2 separate regions of the Homo sapiens genome follow, and region 2 is linked to region 1. Evidence: promoter capture Hi-C in 16 types of primary human blood cells and fetal thymus (Javierre and others, 2016). All regions are on one chromosome and are shown on one strand. Each heading gives the region's core, a stretch centred on a gene start or on the middle of the fragment in contact. The rest is flanking DNA. Distances are from core to core; before and after follow the strand shown.

The links. The method cuts DNA at HindIII sites, captures the fragments that hold promoters and counts their contacts. A CHiCAGO score of 5 or more calls a contact.
Region 2: a fragment that was not itself captured here is called in contact with the fragment with the promoter of SLITRK4 in region 1 in 3 of 17 cell types (M2 macrophages, M0 macrophages and M1 macrophages); the score reaches 17.0 in M2 macrophages.

What each region holds. Positions count from the first base shown.
Region 1 is chrX:143,634,681-143,638,061 of GRCh38, reverse strand. SLITRK4 (SLIT and NTRK like family member 4) reads left to right here and starts at 1,961. Exons shown (of 2, transcript NM_001184749.3): 1 at 1,961-2,327. The HindIII fragment of the contact is 4,708 bases long and covers 1,769-3,381 here.
Region 2 is chrX:143,436,930-143,440,310 of GRCh38, reverse strand. No RefSeq gene overlaps it. Among named protein-coding and RNA genes, the nearest start is that of SPANXN3, 79 kb to the left of the region's middle. The HindIII fragment of the contact is 599 bases long and covers 1,528-2,126 here.

The DNA.
Region 1 (3,381 bases), core at 712-3,211:
AGTGGCTTTCAGATTTGTCTCCATATCCATATGAAAAATAACATTTCACAGTTATTGCAGTTAAATATAGCCAAGTCTCAGAACAGTTTCTAAAGTTGAATAAAGATAGGCATTTAAATCATCTGATATTTACTGTCCAAATCTGGCCTTTTCAGTTATCACATTACTTAGAATTTTCAGGTAAACTTTTTTTGCTCATTCTATTGACTCTTGTTAACATTTGTAGTAAAAGACAAACATTTCACCTATCTGGATAAAATATATTCAGCTTCCTGAATTGTTAGCATTTAGAATAAATGCCAACTTGTTTTGATACCCATTACTACTTTCAAACTGCATTACACAATAAAATGCAAATGTGAGTTATTAATTAGCAGGATCTGTTTTGTCCAAGTGTGCAAGAGTAGAGGGATTTTTCAACATTCTGCAGCTGTTACCTATGAAGGAAACATCATTCACTTTGCTAAAAGGAGCTGCACAATTACATACGCTGTTATAGACAAATATTTTAGTGTTTCCTTAATGCTATTTCATAATGGATTTCACATTGAATAAGATAAATTTTACCAATGCTGCCCAATTTCTGTCTCTAGGTTGTTTGTAAAAGAGAGGATGATTACAGTTTTCAAGGCAATGTGGAGTGAAGGTAGAGAAAGAGTTCTTCATGAACGACACAATATTTAGCAAGGTCATAAAGAAATATGCCCATACACGCATATCTATTTAAGTATTCATTTACATATTGTACGTGCATCTCTGTATACATGTTGTGCCCGGTGAACATTTGTGTGAATATAACCTGACGGAAGTCCCATAAAATGACAAAAAATGAAAAACAATGAAACATGTATATGAATGACTACTATAGATGATACAGAAGGTAGACCATTATTCACAAATAATGTAATAAATCCTTTGCCCATCAGATGTTTCTACCTAGATTTGGGGCCTTTAAACATCAACCAATTATGGTAAATGTTTAACTGTAGGAGTTCAGGCAGACAGCCAAATTCTGGTTTCAAAGCTGTTGCTAGTTTTAGCTTAAAGATTTTTTTTTTCATTTTTAAGCAAGAACATTTCTGGATACCGGTTGTGCTCTATTGTGGCTAGAGCCGCTGGGATTTGAATAAGTAAATTGGGCAACACACTGGTCCTGAAGAAATGGGCCTGGCAGTATTACCTGAATGTGGCAAATAATAGGCTACCAAGAGTCCTAGGGAAATACTTCCCATTTATAACTTAGCTCTACTTACCTAAAGCTAGTTTATTCCCACAGACACGAAGAGAGAGAGAGTTGTTTTTCTTAGCCAAGCTCCTACAAAAAACAGCAAGGTTGGGGGATGGGAGCACATCCAATGTTTATGCCTTTTGTTTAGGAAAGCCAGGTATCTGAAATACATACATGATAGCCAACTCCTCTCTGCTCCCCTCCCCCAGGTTTATTTATTTTCTTAACAAGCTTATTAACGAAATTATCAATTTGCATGAAACTGGTTTGAACATTGGCCCTTCCTCAGAATATTTCTTATCTCTTGTGGAAGCACTAACAAAAAGGGTAGAAGAAGGGGCCTAGACAATCCACACGTTGGATTTGCAGCCACTGGATATTTCAGATTCAGCTGCTAAAGCCTCTTTGGTATACACAATGAGGGGCGACTGAAGTGACTTTTCTTAGTCCATTTCCTCTCCTTCTCCCCGTCTCCCGAAGGTACTCCGTGGGTCCCTTCCCTTTCTCTCTTCACAGTCCCTCCTGAGCAGTCCCAAAGCTTCAAACCTTGTTCTCCAACCCCCTTTCCCTAATGTCTCCCAACTACCACCCCCTTCCCCAGTCAAACTCCCCTCCCGGTCACCACCAAAGCCCGGAGAAGTGGAATGCACACAATGCCTCCCTTATAGGGCTTGAGCTGGGAACTGGGCATGCTCAGTAGCCAAAGTAGTTTTTTTTTTTTTTTTTCTTTTGGTCGCAAGTGCGGCATCTCTCCCAGTCCCACGCCTCTCTTTCCTCAACCCCTATCCCCTATCCCCTATCCCCACCCCCAGCTCCAAGATCATCCGGCTTAACCCATTCTGCACCAAAGGCCCACGGAGTTCTAAGGTGCGGATAATTAACCCGTCTCCTTCTAACCCGGCTAAATAGTCTCACTTTAGGCTAAAGCCTCACACTTTCGCCTTAAAGCCCCTGGCCCCTTACGCGCAGACAGGTAGGGGGAGTGCGAATACTACTGGATCCTAGGAAATTGGTTCCCAAGAAGGCTCCTTCCAGGATCGACCGCCACGGAGAAGTATTCCAGGAGCCCTCCGTTCTGCGGGGTGACAATTAGCCAAAGGTACCGTACCCGTGATACAAAATCCAAGTATGATTGTTGCATTTGAATGTCATTGTTGTTGACTCATTCCCCTCCATCCTGTAATTATTCAATTCCGCGTAGACTCGACGACCCTATCGATCTCCCTCGGCCCCCCTCCCCCAGGCTCTCCAGTGTTTCTTTGGCTTTTCCTGGCTTCTTGGTTGCTCTCTCAAAGGAATGCCCCGTGTGTGTGTGTGTGTGTGTGTGTGTGTGTGTGTGTGTGTGTGTGTGTTCCTTCGTTATTAGGGGACTGGAAGAGAAGAAAAGGGCTCGAGTGTGTGTGTATGTGGTGGGGGGGATGGAGGCGAGTGCGCCCTTGTTAGAGGACTGGGGTCTCCACGCCTGAGGAAAGGGGTCGCTCCTCCCTAGGGAATGTTTTAGGCAAAAAGAGGGGGCGGATGCCGGGAGGAAAGCGCGCTGTCTTTCTGGGTGTGTGGGTAGAAGAGGAATCAAATGGGCATGTCTGGATGGGGGACGGGGGTAGGAGCTCAGGAATGTGAGGGGGTCAAAGTGGTCGAGTGTCGGGAGGAAGGACTGCTTGTGTGCGGGGTGGGGGGGGGTGGTGGAGAGCGGGGGCGGGGATTCAGCGCGTGTATGTAAAGGTGCAGCCCGTGTGCTAGGCGCTGGGTGCGCGCGCGGTGTCTGCTCGGGTGCGCGCGCGCGCCGCTGCCCGCCTGCCCGCCGGCCCGCCTGCTCGCCTGCTGGGGCTGCTCCGTGGGTTTGACGGGCGAGCGGGCGCGGAGGAGCTCTGTCCGGAATCACATAGATACCATCGTGGAAACAGCAGCGCAGGTCACGGCGCCGCGGGCCCTGCACCAGACGCTGGGCTCTAGAGGTGGGTGAATTTTCAGCGGGGGCTGCACAAGCTGCACCGACACGCGTGCTGCCTCTTCCCCGCTCAGCTCAGTAGCGCGTGTGCGTGCGTGTGTGTGTGTGAGAGAGAGACAGAGAGAGAGAGAGAGATCTCGCGCGCGCGCACGCGAGCCGAGGGGGCAGGTAGCTTATTATTTTTAGTTTGGGTCCTGTTGGTTTG
Region 2 (3,381 bases), core at 578-3,077, 200 kb after region 1:
ATGATGGGTTGATGGGTGCAACAAGCCATCATGGCACGTGCATACCTATGCAACAAACATGCACATTCTGCACATGTATGCTAGAACTTAAAGTATTTTAAAAAAGAGAGAGAGAGAGAGAGTAGGAAGGTAATTACCAGAAGCTTGGAAGAAGTGGGGGGATGGGGAAGAGGAAGATGTTGATCAAGGGGACCGAAGTTTTAGTTCTGCTGGAGGAATAAGTTTTAGTCATCGATTATACTGCATGGTGGCCACAGTTTATAAAAGAATATATATATATATATTTTAATGTTCTTACCACAGAAAAGATAAATTGGAAAAATGATGAATAGGTTTTTTGAATTTTTAAAATATTTTTATTTGTATAGATTTAAGGAGTCCATTTAAGCTGGGTGCAGTGGCTCACCCCTGTAATCCCAGCACTTTTGGGAGGCCAGGGTGGGAGGATCATGAGGTCAGGAGTTCGAGTTTTAAAGAGTTCAGCTGTAGTTTTGTTACATGGATATATTACATAGTGGTGAAGTCTGGGCTTTTAGTGTAGCCATCAGCCTAATATTGCACATTGTATCCATTAAGTCATTTCTCATTTCTCACCCCCTCCCTCTCTCCCAGTCTTCTGAGTCTTCAATGTTTATTATTCTACTGTCTATGTTAATGCGTACACATCATTTAGCTCTCACTTATAAGAACTCGCTGTCTTCGACTTTCTGCTTCTGAGTTACTTCACTCAAGATAACAGCCTCCACTTCTATATGATAGATAAATATGTTAAATTGCTTAATCAAATCTTTCTACACTGTATACGTAGAACAAAACATCACATTGTGCCCTGTACATATATACAATTATTATTAGTCAATTAAAAATAAAAAGGAAGGAAGGACAGAAGGAAGGATGGAAGGAAGGAGAGAGAGAGAGAGAAGAAAAGAAAAAAGAAAAGAAAAGAAAAAGAAAGAAAGAAAGAAAAAGAAAGAAAGAAAGAAAGAAAGAAAGAGAAAGAGAAAGACTGAAAACTTTACATTGGGAAGTTCTTTAGTAAAGATTCAGAATCCTGATTTAAAAATTCAAAATAAATCTGAAAACATCTATGGCTTGTATTTCTTAAGAAGTCCTCAATACCTTAAACAATGCAGATGGGCACCCATAGGCTTTCTGCCAGTGGTGTGCTGGAATTTGTTCAGACTGGCCCAGGAGAACCGCTTGTTAAATTTTCAGAAATTTCTCTAGCTGGTTGTTATACCTTTGGTAGCTTGAAATCTACTATGGTGATAGTATGTATACCTCCAAAAATAAACACACAAATTTACAAAATACCCACTCTTCAACCTCTTCACTGATACGTCACTGCTTTCTGCATGCCCATCTGTAAGGAAGATTCTCCTGAGAGTCTTCCTCATTAGAAGATTGTTTTCATAAATTTATCAGAAAAACAATCTCATCTCATTATTTCAACTGGGAAGGAGAATGAGCCAGGTTAAGAAGAAATAGAAGAGAAGTCATTGCGTTACAACTTCTACACTGGAAGCTTCATAGTACACAGTTTGTTGGTGGATCCTAAAATTACTATTATTACTCATAATAACTGACTCTTTTTGAGTTCTTACTATGTGTCAGGTGCTGTCCGAAGCAGTATGCAGTATGCAGAATAACATGCTATCCTCACAACAGTCACATGAGAGAATGATCTCCATTTTATAGTTGAGAGTAAATGAGATTCAGAGAAGTTGGGGACTCATAAATGGTCACACAGTCAGGAAGAAGCAGAATTGAGATTTGAATGTGGGTCTCTGTCTCTAACAGGTTTGTGTTTTTCTGACCGTGCTAGGCATTTTTTATGCCAGTCATTGCCCAGTGCAATGTCCTGTACATTGTAGAATCTCAATAAATATTTGTAGAATCAAATCATAACTTATGTATATATTATTTAACCTCACACCTAATTTAGATACTGCGAGATTCTAGTAACAGTGTTTTGTCTTATTTCTATGTCCTCAACCCCTAGCAAAATCCTGCACACAAAATTCTGGTGCATTAAAAGCATTTGTTGGATGGAAATAAATGAGTCCACTTCCATAGCAGGTAGTCTGACTTAGGAGAAGACCAGGAGCTGATCTCTGGAATAAGCTTAGCCAGAGTGGAAGCTTTCTTGGCATTTCTGAAGTTTTGTTATTCTAAACATGGTTTTGAATAACAGTAATTGGGAGGGGACATAATGTTGAACGCATTTCCCTTGGTGCTAATAGACTATTCTTTCTATTTCACATCTTCTGTTAAAAAAAAAAAAGGGAAGAGAAAATGTAATTAATATTTATTGATGACCAGTCATTTTGTTAGGATATTTCAAATTTATATTTGCACGGAAAGCAATCCTAATAGGTAGATACTATGACTACTTGCCTTTTATGCATAAGGAAACTGAGATTCAACATAGTAAACACAGTTGGAATTGAAAGCAGATTTAGAAGCCAAAACCGAGATTCCTCAATTTGGACTCTGATAATAACGGTATCAACCGCCTTTACTATTTATAAAAATTCTCCCTAACTCCTGTTTTGAATTAACCAAGAATATAGTTTTCCCAGGTTTGGATGTTGTATCTCTGACAACTACAATACCCTTTAACTCAAGAGATTGAGTGAGGGGGTCTGTGCTACCTAATGAAAAAGTCTCCATCTAGTGGTTACAAATCAAATAGCGTTCATATGCCCCGAAGGTGCTTCTGGAATCCATATTGGGTACAGTGTGCACTACTTGGGCGACGGGTGAACCAAAATCTCAGAAATCATCACTAAAGAGCTTATCAATGTATCCAAAAACCACCTGTCCCCCCAAAACTATTGAAATAAATACCAAAAAACCCCACAGGTTTATATTGACTGGTGCAGGACCAAGACTAGTGTAGGGTGAGTGAGGGGCAATTGCCTTCGTTGCAAAATTCAAGGATAGCCAAAAAACTCAGTATAATGATAAACAATACTTTAATCCAATGTTTTTTAAAAATCAAAATTAATGCATTAGATACACAACGAATAAAACATCAAAATTTTAAATAAAGACAGGATCAGTATTACTGACTTTTCCTTTTCCCTCTGGCTTCATTATAGCTCTACACGCCACTAGACTAGTGTGAACGATGTAAAATGTTCATACACATTTCCTTGGCATGTAACCACAGCGAGGTCAAACCTCAGTGTCCTGGCTTAAATATCCACGTCATAATATCAGAAAACAGCAATCACATGCCTTGAACAAAATCTCCTTTTCATAAGATTTTAGACATTATTGAAAATGAAGATGGATGGAAACTAAAGGGTGCCTTACTTATTCAATGACTTAACTGTTCGCAGGCATAATGACTAACTTACTTGCACATGAAGGCAC